Regions from separate parts of the Homo sapiens genome. Here regions 2 and 3 are each linked to region 1. Evidence: promoter capture Hi-C in 16 types of primary human blood cells and fetal thymus (Javierre and others, 2016). All regions are on one chromosome and are shown on one strand. The core of a region is centred on a gene start or on the middle of the fragment in contact, and the rest is flanking DNA. Distances in the headings are between cores, read along the strand shown. Region 1 holds the start of RELT (RELT TNF receptor). Region 2 overlaps PLEKHB1 (pleckstrin homology domain containing B1). Region 3 holds the start of PLEKHB1 (pleckstrin homology domain containing B1).

Region 1 (4,849 bases), core at 1,074-3,573:
CCACCCATCCCCAGTGTTCCAGACATGTGTGCACACACACACATCATACTTAGAACTCACAATGTAATGCCCTGGCTAGGCCACGCCTACTAGCCCAAGTTTGAGAGACAGAAGTCCAGGAAAGCCATGAGCAGTTATTAGGAAGGTGGGTGATCCTCTCTCCCAGCATCTCACTGGTCTCTGGGGTCAGAAGACCTGAATTCCAGTCCTGGCACTGTCCTGACTCTGTATGACCTTGGCCAAGTCACTTTGCTTCTCTGATCCTCAGTTCCTTTCTCTGAAACACAGTCACTACATCTCAGAATCACTGCGAAGATTCAACAAGACAGAACACCATGAAGTGTTCAGAACAGTGCCTGACACTGTCCCCCACCCTGTCCCCCACCCCTAGAATGTAATCAGCATTTTCAGAGGACGACAGCAGAAGACAGAACTTCCAGATTCTACAGCAAGTGCCACCCTCTCCTAGACTAGGGAGCTCAGCTTCCACCCCACCCTGCATGAACCCCACAGACCTTCATACGGGAGAAGGGGCCTCAGAAGGGTCTTGCCCAGATGGCGAAAGGGTACCGCTCCAGCTCTCCAGCAAGAACTTAGCCTCCCAGACCAGAGACCACTCCTGGGGAACAAGTCTCTCCCCACTCTCCCCCAACCCAAGGAACTGAAGAAAGGACACCCAGGCAGAGAAGTGAATGTCTATGGATTTGGGGATCCATATTGTCTATGGATCCATTTCGTGACAGAGGACCAGGAAGCCTTTGGGTGGGAGGCTAACGTTTCCTTGACCAGTTTTGGAGAAGGCTGTGCTTCCAACCCTATCAGTAGCCCCTGAGTGCAGCCCCTGGGCCGCTGTGTCCCCAGGAGAAGCCTGCCCCCACCCCCCACTGCAGTCTTTCTGCCTGAAGGGAAGGGAGAACACAGGCAGTTGACCCAAAACAATAGAGGATCCCAAAGTGATGATTCACAGTCCATTCAAAGCCCAGCACCTCAGTGTGCAGATGGGGAGACTGAGGCCTGCGCGGGGGAGGGGGGCGGGGGGGTCTGAGAACAAGATTGTGTCCGGGTCCGCTGAGAATACAGATTACACAGGGGCAGAACTTTGCCAGGTGTAGGGACTTCGATGCGTGAGTGTGTGGATGCAGGTGGGCGGGGGGAAGCTGAGACTACCACAGGGCCCCTACCCTGCTGCCATCTGGGCCACCCCACCAGATGTTGCCCAGCCTCGGCTTTCTCCCTCAGCCAGGGCCTATCCCTCAGGGTCCATCTCCTCACCAAGCTGAACTCCTGAGGGGTGCCCTCGTGGGGACAGTCCTGGAGACCCTTGTCTCCTGGCTCCCCAACTTCCTCATCGCCCCACATCTGCCGGAAGGTGTCCTAGGTCCGGTCCCTCCTCCTCCTGCCTCTTACTCATCATCACCCTAGGCGCAGACACACACACACACACACACACACTGACACCACTTGACCCCACACGCACACCATGGCGCCAGCGAGCTCGGCTCGTTCTCAGTCACTTGGGCTCCTCTCCCTCTATTTCACACTCACAGTAACGGGTGGCCCTGGCCCTGCGCCGGTCACGCCCCAAGCCACGCACTTCGTGACCCCAGTGACCCCGGGTCTTTCCCTCACACAACACACGCACACACGCTGCCTGTCTCCCACACACAGAGCCCCTCTGTGTCGCCCGCTCGGCCCGGCGTCACCGCCCAGTGTCCCAGCCACACGTTCGCCCGGCCAGGCCGCCTCACGCGCCGTGTCACCCACAGTCACGGGCTGACACCATCCAGACCCCCCCTTGGCCGCCCCGCGCCGCAGCCGCGCCGAGGCGCCGCCGTCCAGCCCGCACCACAACCTGGTCTCGGTCCAAGTTTCCCGGGCCGGGGACCGCTCCGGGCCCCGCCGGCCCCTCACACCGCAAGTTCCGCTGCTTCCCCGCGCGCCCCCCGACAGCCACCACGCAGGGCCGGCCCGGAGTCGCGGCCGGAGGACCTGCAGGTCACGGGGCTCGGAGACTGGCGGTGGCCGGTGCGCGGAAGGCGCCGGGACAGGACGCGAGGCGGGAGGAGTGGGGTGGGGGGGCGCGCGGCCGGGCTGCCGCATCCGCCGAGCCCGCGAACTTCCTCAGAGACACGGGGAGGCAGGGGGCGCCACTAGGGTCCGTATCCCGCTGGCCCGGCCGCGGAGAGCAGACTCTGGATGGGCGCTCCGCGCGCCCTCCTTACCTGGCTGCGCCGCGGCAGCTCCAGCTCGGCTCCCCGTTCGACTCGGCGCCGCGGCCCGGCTCGGCGAGCGCCCGGACAGCCGCGCAGCCTGCGCGCCTTTTGAATGAATCGCCGGCTGGGCCGGGAAGGTGCGCAGACCCGCCCCCGCGCGTCACGGCCGCTCCGCCCCCGACGTCAGAGCGCGGTCTGCGCCCCGCGCCCGACTCACCCCGAGCCGCGGAGGGGCTCGCCGCTCTGCCGCTGGGCGGTGCTGCTCTACGTCGCCCTCTCTCGCGCCCCTGGGAACTGCAGGGGGCTGCGCGGGACTGGGCGGCGGTGCCCAGAGGGCCTCTTGTATCCGCCTCTTCAAGGCTCTGAACCAAGCAAGGAGTTGTGCGAAGCAAGATAAAGAGACTGGAGACTGAGATACTCCTCTGGGTCCTCTCAGCATTGCCAGTGTAACTAGAGCCACCTCTGCCCCTTTCTGGGCTTCATCTTCCTCCTGCCAGTTGGTGGCCAGGAAGAATAACCTCACTTTGCTTTGTTGACGAGGCCCAGGCCCAACCCTGGAAACCCTCACCTAGTTGGCGAAAAGGCCTGGTGAAGGTGAGTCTATAAAGGAAGCCCACACGGTGGGCTTCGGCACATCCTTCAAGGCCTAGTGAAATCCTCCAGGAGGCGTCTCCTGCCTCCACTCCCCTACTCCCCGCACCACTTCTCTGTGCCAGGGTAGTTAGTTTCCCTCCAGCAGGACAGGTGACTCAGTGCCCCCCTCCCTACTACAGCCATCCCACCCTGCCAGTTTCCAATGCCAGTCATCACAAACTCCAGGCAGTATTCACACTGTATTCCGACTCCGAATCGTGTCCCCTGGAGTTGTGCTACAGGGTGTGCCAGGACTGGAGGGAGCAGCTCAGTGGCCCGTTCCCCCTCTCAGTACTATTCAGGGGATCTCAGGCGGTCCTCCTGGGACAGTAGGGCTGATGGGAGACTGAGACACCAGGGAGGACCTAGTGCTGGGCCAGAGGCCTGGCTGGGGTCAGGATAATCACAGCCCATGACAGAGATGGAGAAAGGAAGGTAAATAAGTCAGCTGGGGATAGATGGCTGGGGGTGGGGTTCTAAACAGTCATAGAATCTGAACCCAGGGGCTAGGAGACGGAAAAGGTCAGGTCCCCAGGGTCCAGGAGATTCCAGGAGGCGAACTGGACACCGCATGGGGAGGGGAGCAGGGGATGAGTTTTCATTTCCCTGGGTCATGCTCAGGTTGTGGGGGAAGGGCATAAGGAGCTACAGGTCATTGATGTCAGGATCATGACATCAGCACCCTCATATGTCAATGGAGACCTCCAGGGCTGGGGCAGGGGTTCTTCCAGGGTCCCACATCCCAGCCTACGGAAGGCCAGAGCATCCAGAATGCCTCCACTCCTGGAAATGTTTTCTTTGTAAGGGGACCATCTACACCCCAGCTCTAGGTTCTAGAGTTCAAATGGTGGCAATTTCAGGTGTCGTCACTCAATAAACCAAATGGGGAAGGCCAGGTGTAGTGGTCACACCTGTAATCCTAGCACCTTGGGAGGCTGAGTTGGGAGGATCACTTAGCCCAGGAGTTCGAGACCAGCCTGGGCAACATGATGAAGCCCAGTCTCTACAAAAATATGTGGGAGAATCACTTGAGCCCAGGAAGTTGAGACTGCAGTGAGCCGCGATCGTGCCACTGCACTCCAGCCTAGGTGAGAGAGTGAGACCTTGTCTCAATCAATAAACTAAATGGGGAAATGCTTTTTGGAGCACTGGCTATTAATCAGACATCCCAGAGAGGGTCCAGGCCCCTCTCTACCACCAGCTCTCTGTGAGGTTTTCATCAAATCCACCCCCAACTCAGTTTCCTCATCTGAAAACTGGGGTGCCAGACATGTTGCCTGAAGTTCTCTGTGGGAGGCGGCTACCTGGCTGCCCTGGCAGCAGCTCCATAGAGTAGGTCTCCTGGGGCCACAGCCCAAACACTTCTCGCTCCTGCAACCCCCAGGTTAGGAGGGAGCCTAATTATTATTTACTGCTGGGTGGATGCGCCAGCTCCTCCTGCAGCCAGCTCTGACCCTGAAACCACTGTGACGTGGGCTCCTCCCTGAGAGTCTACCAGCATCTGGGTTGCTCCACAGTGAGTAGACAGGGAAGGAGTTGTGGAAGCCACAGGAAAGATTTAGACTCGCTTTTTATGGAGCTTGGGGAACCACAGGCTTGAGAACAAAGGACTCTCAGAATCACAGGCTTTATAAAATCCTGGCATCTCAACTGAACCCATGGAGTCAGCACTGGAATCCCTGAGCTCAGGGACCTCAGAGACCATCTTGTTGAACTTCACATGGTACAGCTGGGCAAGTGGGCCCAGAGAATGTGTGCACCTCATTGTAGGTACACAGCACAAGGTCCCAGTAAACTGGGACGAGCTGTGATGGGGACCTGGAGGCAGGGGTACAGGTGCCATGCCCCAGCCAGGCCCTGCCTGGGGTGGGGATCCTGGGTCACAGAATCAGAGCCACCACAGTGTGGCTGTATGCAGGGGTCTGAGTAGATGACTGCCTTGGAGTCATGGACCAAAGGTAGTGGGTGCCACTCTGCTTGCTGGCTGTGCTAGAATTCCAAAA
Region 2 (4,849 bases), core at 963-3,462, 290 kb before region 1:
CTCCCAAAGTGCTGGGATTACAGACGTGAGCCACCACACCCAGCCAGATGGTGACAATCTGAGAGGACAGAGGCTGACATCTGCTTTGTAGTTGGAACTCTTTCTATATTCAGTATATGTTCCTGCCTAAGCATATCCTGGCCTTAGCTTGTTACCCCTCTCCATCCCCAAGGCTTGTGACCAACCTAGAAAGGGTCAAACCTCAGGGTTCTGTGCTTCAGGTTTAAGGGTGATAGACTGATTGGACCATGATTCTGACAATGAAGTCTCCTGATGACCACTTAAGATATCTGCAAACCTCTGTGGGAAATTCTAAGGTTGGGGAACACTGATCTGAGGTCAGAAGTAAATCTGGGACCCAACCCTGGGAGTTCTCAGGAGGTAGATCTCAACTCCTGAGGAAGGAGGTCTCACAGACTGAGCTATCCCACAAGGGCAGGAAAGGGAAAGGGTAAGAGTACTCCCAGTCCCTATGGGTGGCAGAAAGCAGTAGCATGGTCCCTTTCAGGTGGGGCAAAGGGGAGACAAATCCATTTTAGAGGGCATCGAGGGTCATATCCAGCCAGGTATTCTGAATGTAGGGCTCTAGTTCTGAGACTGAGTCATATACCTGATTTTGGAGAAGTGCTCACTGCCAGGATGCTCAGAGTGCCACAGACCCTTGCTATCTACAGAATCTCCTCTAGTAGGGGCTGATGGAGGCAGGTGGTCTCAGGAATGGATGTGGAGTTGAGCACCCCCAGTGAGCTGGCTATGAGTGGCCAGGCAGTACCTGGGCTGCTCAGACAGTTTGCAGAGATGGTTTTGTCTGGGTTGAGACCATGTTGTCTATGAGAATGAATGTCTGTTTTTGTGTGTGTGAGATCGAACTTCCAGGTTCAACCATGTCCTTCCTTTGCTTCAAATTTTTTGGAGGCATTCCATGGCCTGGAAGTTAGTATATAGTTCAAGCTCCTTCCCTGGCATCCAAGGCCCCTGACGGTTTGACCTTGCTGACCCCCGTTTCCACCCATCACACTGCAGATCCAGCCTCACCCAGAGAACTCTCGGCACTGAGTGCTGCTTTAGTTCTTGTTTCCTCTTCATCTAAGTTAGCAACTCCCACAAGACGATAGTTGGAAGAGCATTTGTCTTTACATCTAGCTTAAGACACTTCCACCCATACCTGAGTTAAGGGCTGCTTTCTCTGTGACCCTACAGCCTCAGGGCTACCAGTTCCCACAGCCCATGTTGTCATAGTCTGTGCCCATGTCTGGGATAGACAGACAGACACACACACACGCACGCACGCACATGCACAAACTCCTTGAATGTAGGGCCCAAATCTCATTCATCTTCCAGTACCCAGCTCTCAGCCCTGTCTGCCAACAAAACTTCTCAGGAAAGCATTTGCTAAAGGAAAAGAGAAGAGATATTTGTGTTATACAGTTGACCTCCTCTCTGGGAATTACTTTCCTGCCAGGTAATGAGCCACACAGGATTTATAGTGCAGAAGCAGTGTGGTGTGGTAGACAAGGTCAAGTGACCTGCATTTGAATCCAGATTCTGACACAGCATGCATGACTTGGACAATCTACTTTCCTTCTCTGCATCTGTTTCTTTGTAGGTAAAATAAGAATAGTAACACCAGGCCCATGGGGTTGTTGCAAAGACCTATGAGATAAAGCAGGGGAAGCTTTGGGCAATGAATGGCAATGTCCCCAGCTCTGTCTGATCTCAAATGCCCTGCCCAGCCAGCTCCCTGATCCTTGTTTAACCCACATTCTTGGGAAAGGACTCTAGATAGCTTGGGCTCTTCCTACATATTGATCTCTAAAAGTCCTGAGACTGTGCCGGAGAGTAAGAGGAAAGGTCATTCCCAGAGCCAAACTCAGAGATGTCCCTGCAGGAGCATGCAGGACACCCTCTAATGAGATGGCGTAATGGGGATGCCACTAAAGGACTGACAGGGTAACTGGGTCCATCTGGGAGAAAATTAAGGCTGAGGCTGGGCTGAAGGTAGTGAGTTATCTCAATTGACTGTTCATAGTCAGTTACAGATCAAACTCTGTTCTCTCTCCCCACTTCTCACTGCTGCAAAGGAAGGGAAGGAAAGGAAAGGGAAGGGGAAGGGGAGGGGGAGGGGGGAGTGGGGGAGGGGAAGGGAAGGAAATGGAAGGGGAAGGGAGGGGGAGGGGGGGAGGGGAAGGGAAGGGAAGGGAGGGGGAAGGGAGGGGAAGGGAGGGGAGGGGAGGAGGAAAGACAAAAATAGAAAAAATTAAGGCTGTGAGGAGGAGAAAGGAGGGGAGCAAAACAAAAGAAAAAATTAAGGCTGAAGTTCCAAAGCATGGACTGGGTCTGATGCACTGCTGGGTCCCCTGAACACAGTACAGGCCTTAGGATACCCAGGGTATGTAACCTCTGACTGCACAAATGCTAACAGACCTTGGTTTTCTCAAGAGGCTCCTCTTGCATCCATGCTTGTCCTTAAGCCGGGGCCACATACTGGACTATGCCCTGTGTTCAGTAGCCTGGCCCAAGAGGTTCCTTATAGTTTGACCTCATCCACCACCTCTCACCATGCGACCTGCTATAGCATGAGACTGGTTCCTGAACTTCAGGGTGCTCTCAAGCCTCTAATGCCTTTGCTCATACCATTTCTTCCATCTGTTCTCTGTGTGGAAAGCTCTCCCAACTTTTTCAGATTGGCAAACTCCTACTCATTTTTCAAGGTTCAAAATAAATTTCCACTTCCTGTCCCAAAGCTTTCCCTAGTTCCCTTGGCAGAGTTGCATGCCTCCTCTTCAGAGCTCCAACTGCACCACGTTCCTCTGTAACTTCATTCAATCATTGCTGTTTTTATACATGTCTCACCTCTAAGTTGGTGTCTCTGGAACTGTGGCTGAGGTGAATACCTGATATTTTTGCCAACCAGCTTTCATCTATTCATCCTACTTCTGGGAACAGTGCCCTGAATTTCCTCTGGGACACCATCCCACCCCTGCTGTAAGCCCTGTTATTTTAGACCATCCGTTTCCAGACCACTGGGGTTGATGCAGGGATGGCCACAGGACCCAATTTAGACTGATGTCTACCAGGCCCAGGACTTTCAGTCATACTGTTAGAGGAAGAGAAATTCTCTTGGTTGGACTTGAACTCAGGAGGGCATTAGCCTGGAGCTGCTGAACATCACTGCAGCTTCCAAATGAGCCAGCCCTGCAGGTGTAAAGATGGAAACAAAGCAAAGTCTAAGTGACACTCTTTGAGCCCCTGGATCACACAGCTCTTGGACTTCTCAGTTATGTGGCTTAACCTTTTCCCTTTGGCTTAAATCAGTTTGAACAGGGAGTTTCTATCTGACAGCCCCAAGAAGCCTGATGCAGGATGATGGTGTTTCCTTTCCTGACCACCTGGTTTTCTATGAGAACAATTCATTGATTCAACTCTAGAAGGATGGGAACCTACTGGAAAAGACTCCAACATGAACAGGATTCTCAGAAAGCAGGCAGGACCTGGCTTGGATCATCCATCAGCTCAGACAACAGAGACTCCAAGGCAGTCCCTCCTCTTGAGCCCTCAGGAATGGTCAACTTCAACCAGCTACCTTAAGTGTAGGGAAAACAAAATCCAGAAAGGTTAAGTGACTTGCCCCAAATGACTCAGCTAATATGCTGTCACCAGTTCCAACTGATCTCAGAATCCACACTCTTTTTCACTAGACCAGTGAAGGCACTAGTAGCTGCTGGATCATGGAGAGGGAAACAGGGCCTTCTGGGGGAACAAAGCAAGCCACAGTTACTGCTAGAGCCAACCAAATCTTTATTAGTCTCGGCAGCAGAACTAATGGAGCCCCCATTTACAGGGGAGCTTTAGTGGGCTAGTCTGGCTACCAGGCAGGGATGTTAGCATTTCTATTGGTGATTGGGATAGAAAGGGGGAAGAGACTGGAAGGGAACCAAAGGGGGAGACTGGTGGACCACCTGAGGGCAGGCACAGATGGGGCTTCCTGGGCTGGTGTAGAGGTGGATCAGGCCCCAGAGGAGAACACTGCCATCTTATTCAGAATGAAGGATGAGACAAAGCCTGAGAGGGTGACAGTCACAGCTACAAAGAGAGGGCCGAGCTCCTGGTGTGAGAGGCATTTCTGGACGGAGGCAGCTTTCTAGGGCTGGAAGTCTCAAATAGAACTCACCTGTTCCCCAACCAGGGGTCCCCAGGTTCAGCTCAATTGTTATCATGGGTACCAGCCAGGAAGCTGTTTGTGGGAAGGATGGGACTTGACTCAGGAGTGTTTTAGGTATGGACATGTGTCAGTATTCACAAAACAGGCAATATATTCATTATAGATGCAATCATGAAACTTCCCTCCAGAGAAGGCTCACATCTCCCCTTTCACCTAGGAAGCTCCTTAGCTTGAAGGCCCACCACGGTCTGATCCCAGCCTCCACCCCAGCCCAAATGAACTCCCATTTAATTCCTTGGACATGCCATGACGTTCACGGCTCTGCATACTTGCCAATAACTGTTCTTCCAGCCTACCTGTCTTGCTCCCTGCCCCACCTGTCCTTGTCAAAGGACTGATAACTCTTCAGCTTTGTCAAGTCCTTGTTTACTCCTGTTCTCCCCACCAGGACTCGAGCTCCCTAAGGAGAGAGCAGAGAGCCCGATTCATGTTGTGTCTACAGCGCCTGGGGAACTCGAAGCCAAATGAAGTCGTATTTGCTGTGCCCTGTTGTGTTTAGAGGAAATGTATCCATAAATGTCTATAACAGATTTTGGGGGTGTCTAGTGGTAGATGTGAAGACTTCAAGCGATGTTTGTACCTGTGATGATAGCTTCTTCCCATGTGGGGATTAAGGGTAGGGAGTGG
Region 3 (4,849 bases), core at 1-2,500, 270 kb before region 1:
CCGCTCCCTCCCCTCTCCACGGTCTTGACACAGATCAGACAAGAGGGTCAGGTGCAGACTCCTTTTCCAGCCCCTCCCCTTGATGCACCCACCTTGTCTACACTTGTTGCGGATGTTGCTGCCTAAGCGGCCGCTACTCGATGCTGCTGCCACCCAACCCGCTGCGCCTGCGCTTTGTGTGCCCCGGAGAGCCTGGGGCATTTCTCTCCTCCCGCAGCGCCTGAGAGCCCAGCTGCCCCCGGGCCCCGCCCTCCGGACCTGCCCACCCCAGGGAGGGGGAGTGACGTGAAGAGATGCTGACCCGAGGCGTACTGGGACTTGTAGTCTACCCCTGTAGAGCTGGGCAGAAGCAGCCCCGCCTGCAATTTTACTTTTCTATTAAGACATTTGTTCACTCATTTATCATGAAATACTTTTTCTTAAGAATCATTGAACTCAGTTCCTAGAAAAAAAGAAAAAGTAAAGTTGCAAGGAGAAGCCAAGCTCCTAGTTTTGCATGTTTTTTTGATGCTTCCCCTTTCCATCCCCAGCTTCCAGTCTAGTGAGGGAGATTACATGGAAACACACAATTGGAGCACAAGGTGTGATTTAACAATGGAAAAGATGAGCCTGACTTTTCTCAAGGGGTTCAGGAAGGCTTCCCAGAGGAGGCTGAAAGGGGCCTTGGAGGATGAGGGGCAGTTTCCTAGGCGACCCGAAATTTCCCCTATGAATACTGTCAGGATGTTGAAGAGTGCCCAGCATTTCCGTGTGTCTAGAACATAAAGCGCAGGGGTGGGGAGGGCATCGGGAGTGTCAGGCGATAGAGCTGCAGGGTTTGGAAAGAAATAGCACAGAGGCCTTGCATGACAGGCGGAGAGCTTGGATGTTAGGACGCAGTGACTGGAGCTGGGGGTGGGAGTTTCAAGATGAGGAGTGAGGTGTGTGATTAGGGGGTCGGAAAGGCCCCTCTAGGGCACAGTGAAGAATGGACTGGCGGGAGCCCACCTGGAGAAAGGAAGACTTTCTGTATCTATCACCTCGGACTGTGATCATTTCCTTCAATAGCTCAGCCCCGCAAACCCTCACCTACCAGCAGCCACAGGATGTCATTCAGAGACCAGAGGATGTCAGGGCCTAAAAGACTTCTGTCCCGTCCCCTATGTGGCAAGGGTGCCCACCCTGCCCTGGGCCCTTCCTCCTGTCCCAGAGAACTCTTCCTTACCGGGGCTGCAGGGCTCATGGTTCCTGGGTGGCCAGGGCAGCATTTCCCAGAAGGCTCCCGCAGCGGGGCATTTCCCTGAGCGCCTTAGAGATAAGGGGATCAGGAAGGTGCTACCAAGTGGGAGGCTGGAGGGGGAGGCAAGGAGGGAGCGCACAGATCCCAAGGAAGGTCGCCCTCTTTCTCCAGGCTCCTCCCAGCCTTTCCAACTGATGGCTCTGACCCTAGGTTCACTAGACAAGTCATCCCTGATTCAGAAGTGGTCTTGGCTCAGCATCGCCGAGGTTCCCGGAGTGGAATCGGGGCGAGGTTGCGGGGGCAGGACAGGAACCGGGCTGGTCCTCCTCCCTAGGTTGGGGGCGGGGCTACATCTTCATTCTTTGGCCTGGCAGGACAGCGCCCATCACCCCAGTCCTGGCTGCGCAGTCTGGCTCTTTAAGCCTTCCTCTCTTGCTCCTGAGTCTCTGTAATCCTGACCTCGAGCTACCCTCGCTCCTCGGCCCTTTGTGCGGTGCGTGCCCTGCTGAGGGATTCGCCATGGCCAATCCTATTAACCATTGAGTTCATCCCCTCTTAGCCGACTCAAGAACCAGCTCTCCCATACCGCGTTTTCATCTCTGTGCCTTTAACTCACTCTCTGTCTGGTTCCTGGAACGTCCCAGTCCCAGCTTCTCCTAGCTAAATTTTCCACCTCCACAGTGGAAGGAAGAAAGGAAGCAGTGGGAGGGGGAAAGAGGCAAGGAAAGAGATATGGAAGGAAGGAAAGACAGAAGGAGAAAAGAAGGGAGGGGAAAGACGGGAAGGCAGGTAGGTAGGGCTGCAGCTGGCCTCGGAGGATCTGCGCCTGGGTCCTGCCCCGACCCAGCCTCTCTCCAGCTCTCCCTGCTCCCCTCCCCGATGGGCAGTGGGGCATCCTTCATGTTGAGGGGCGGGGACGGTGCAATCATCTCCTAGATTTCATTCTCTGGATTTAGCAACCAGATGAAAAAGGAAGGTTCTCCAGCAGCAGTGGAGACTTCAGGGGAAGACTCTCCCCTACCTCCCAAAGAGCGGGCACTATGACGAAAAAAAGAGGAAAGGACGTGGCAAACTAAAACCACAGACACTACTACCGAATCTAAACGTAGCCGGACTTGGCCCATGTCTCTAAAAGCTGGTCAGTGACCCTCTTTGAGAAGCCAATAAGGAAGTGTAGACTGTCCTCAGGAAAAAATCTGCGTATAATTCCTGGGAGTTCATAGACCTCTGAAGCCATGATAGTCATGGTTGGATTGTTTTTAATTTCCAGAGCTGTGTAGATGGGAGGAGAGTGTAGATTGACGAGTGAGAGGTATGACAGTATGTCAGGAATTCCAGCCGCAGCAGTCCTGGCTGTGAGAGACTTTGTTTGTTCAATCAACTAAAACTTATTGAGACTAATAAGCCAACAAGTAACTTTTACATTTCTTTGTGGCTATGGTGCACAGAACCATTGGCAGAGAGGAAAAGATTTTGCCATTTCAAGTGTCCCTGGTGAATGAACAGCCCACAGATAATACATTGTTTAGGAAATAGTGGACTGGCTCATCAAATTCAAATTTACTACTTACATTTTCTAGAGAGTATAATATAATGAGAATAATTTATATTATCTTTATTTTAAAAAACTTGAAGTTTATATCAAGATGCAATTTGAGCAAAAGTAAAAGTGCTTATGAAAACATTTTAAATGGCCGGGCGCTGTGGCTCATGCCTGTAATCCCAGCACTTTGGGAGGCCAAGGCGGGCAGATCACCTGAGATCGGGAGTTCGAGACCAGCCTGACCAATATGGAGAAACCCCATCTCTACTAAAAATACAAAATTAGCTGGGTGTGGTGGCACATGCCTGTAATCCCAGCTACTAGGGAGGCTGAGGCGGGAGAATTGCTTGAACCGGGAGGCAGAGATTGTGGTGAGCCGAGATTTCACCACTGCACTCCAACCTGGACAACAAGAGCTAAACTCCGTCTCAAAAAAAAAAAAAAAAAAAAAGAAAAGAAAACACTTTAAAGTGATAATTTTACGCTTTTTTTTGTCTTTTTTTTTTTTTCCTTTTTCTGGAGAACGGGGTCTCGCCATATTGCCCAGGCAGGTCTCGAACTCCTGGGCTCAAGCTATCCTCCCGCCTCTTGCCTCCCTGAGAGCGGGATTACAGGCGTGAGCCACTGCGCCCGGCCAAAGTGATAATTTTAGTGAGATGTAATTCACCTACCATAAAATTCACCCTTTTAAAGTAAAAAATTCAGTGGGTATTTTTTTTTTTTTTTTTGATGGAGTCTTGCCCTGTCACCAGGCTGGAGTGCAGTGGTGTGATCTCGGCTCACTGCAACCTCCGCCTCACAGGTTCAAGTGATTCTCCTGCCTCAGCCTCCCGAGTAGCTAGGACTACAAGCGTGCACCACCATGCCCAGCTAATTTTTGTATTTTTAGAGATGGAGTTTCACCATGTTGGCCAGGATGGTCTCGATCTCTTGAGCTCGTGATCTGCCCGCCTCGGCCTCCCAAAGTGCTGGGATTACAGGTGTGAGCCACCGCACCTGGCCTTCAGAACATTTTTATCACCCTAAAAAGAAACCCTAGGCCAGACATGGTAGTTCACGCCTGTAATTCCAGCACTTTGGGAGGCCAAGGGTGGCGGATCACCTGAGGTCAGGAGTTCGAGACCAGCCTGTCCAACATGGTGAGACCCTGTCTCTACTAAAAATGCAAAAATTAGCTGGGCGTGGTGGCGCGCACCTGTAATCCCAGCTACTCAGGAGGCTGAGGCAGGAGAATCACTTGAACCCGAGAAGCAGAGGTTACAGTGAGCCGAGATCACACCATTGCACTCCAGCCTGGCTACAGAGCGAGTCTCCATCTCAAAAAAAAAAAAAAAAAGAAAAGAAAAGAAACCCTATAGTCTTTAGCAGTTACTCCCAATCTGTCTTCCCCCCAAGTCCCTGGCAAAATTAATCTGCTTTCTTTCTGTACAGATTTGCCTATTCTGGCCATTTCATATAAATGGAATCATGGGCCAGGCGCAGTTGGCTCACACCTATAATCCCAGTGATTTGGGAGGTGAAGGCAGGAGGATCTCTTGAGGCCAGGAGTTTGAGGTTATAGTGAGCTGTTACTGCACTGCTGTACTCCAGACTCAGTGACAGAGTGAGACCTTGTTTCTAAATAAATAAATAGTTTTAAAAAATAAATGGAATCATGCAATGTGTGACCCTTTGTGACTGGCTTCTTTCACTTAGCATAATGTTTTCAAAGTTTATCCAGGTTGTAGCATGTTATCAGTATTTCATTCCTTGTTTTTTGTTTTTGTTTTTGTTTTTGTTTTCAGACAAGGTCTTACTCTGTCACCCAGGCTGGAGTGCAATGGTGCGATCTCACTGTAGCCTCAACCTCTCTGGCTCAAGCAATCCTCCCACCTCAGCCTCCCAAGTAGCTGGGACTACAGGCACATGCTATCACACCTGGCTAATTTTTGTATTTTTGGCAGAGACCGAGTCTCGCTATGTTGCCCAGGCTTGTCTCCATCTCCTAGGCTCAAGCAGCCCTCCTTCCTCAGCTTCCCAAACTGCTAGGATTACAGGCCTGAGCCACTGCGCCTGGCCCATTCCTTCTTACTGATGAATAATATTCT

Evidence for each region. The method cuts DNA at HindIII sites, captures the fragments that hold promoters and counts their contacts. A CHiCAGO score of 5 or more calls a contact.
Region 2: a contact is called between a fragment that was not itself captured here and the fragment with the promoter of RELT in region 1, in 6 of 17 cell types (M1 macrophages, M0 macrophages, megakaryocytes and 3 more). The highest score is 9.8, in M1 macrophages.
Region 3: the fragment with the promoter of PLEKHB1 here is called in contact with the fragment with the promoter of RELT in region 1 in 1 of 17 cell types (M0 macrophages); the score reaches 6.0 in M0 macrophages.

Annotation. Positions count from the first base shown.
Region 1 is chr11:73,373,873-73,378,721 of GRCh38, reverse strand. RELT (RELT TNF receptor) reads right to left here and starts at 2,323. Exons shown (of 11, transcript NM_152222.2): 1 at 2,223-2,323. RefSeq lists an enhancer at 1,344-1,638 and silencers at 1,804-1,883, 1,974-2,263, 2,294-2,603. The HindIII fragment of the contact is 14,706 bases long and covers 1-4,849 here.
Region 2 is chr11:73,661,745-73,666,593 of GRCh38, reverse strand. PLEKHB1 (pleckstrin homology domain containing B1) reads right to left here. Exons shown (of 8, transcript NM_021200.3): 8 at 3,775-4,849. Among named protein-coding and RNA genes, the nearest start is that of PLEKHB1, 18 kb to the right of the region's middle. RefSeq lists an enhancer at 4,626-4,849. The HindIII fragment of the contact is 1,069 bases long and covers 1,678-2,746 here.
Region 3 is chr11:73,642,982-73,647,830 of GRCh38, reverse strand. PLEKHB1 (pleckstrin homology domain containing B1) reads right to left here and starts at 1,250. Exons shown (of 8, transcript NM_021200.3): 1 at 1,205-1,250. The coding sequence starts at 1,222. RefSeq lists enhancers at 1-131, 767-1,685 and a silencer at 172-391. The HindIII fragment of the contact is 13,421 bases long and covers 1-4,849 here.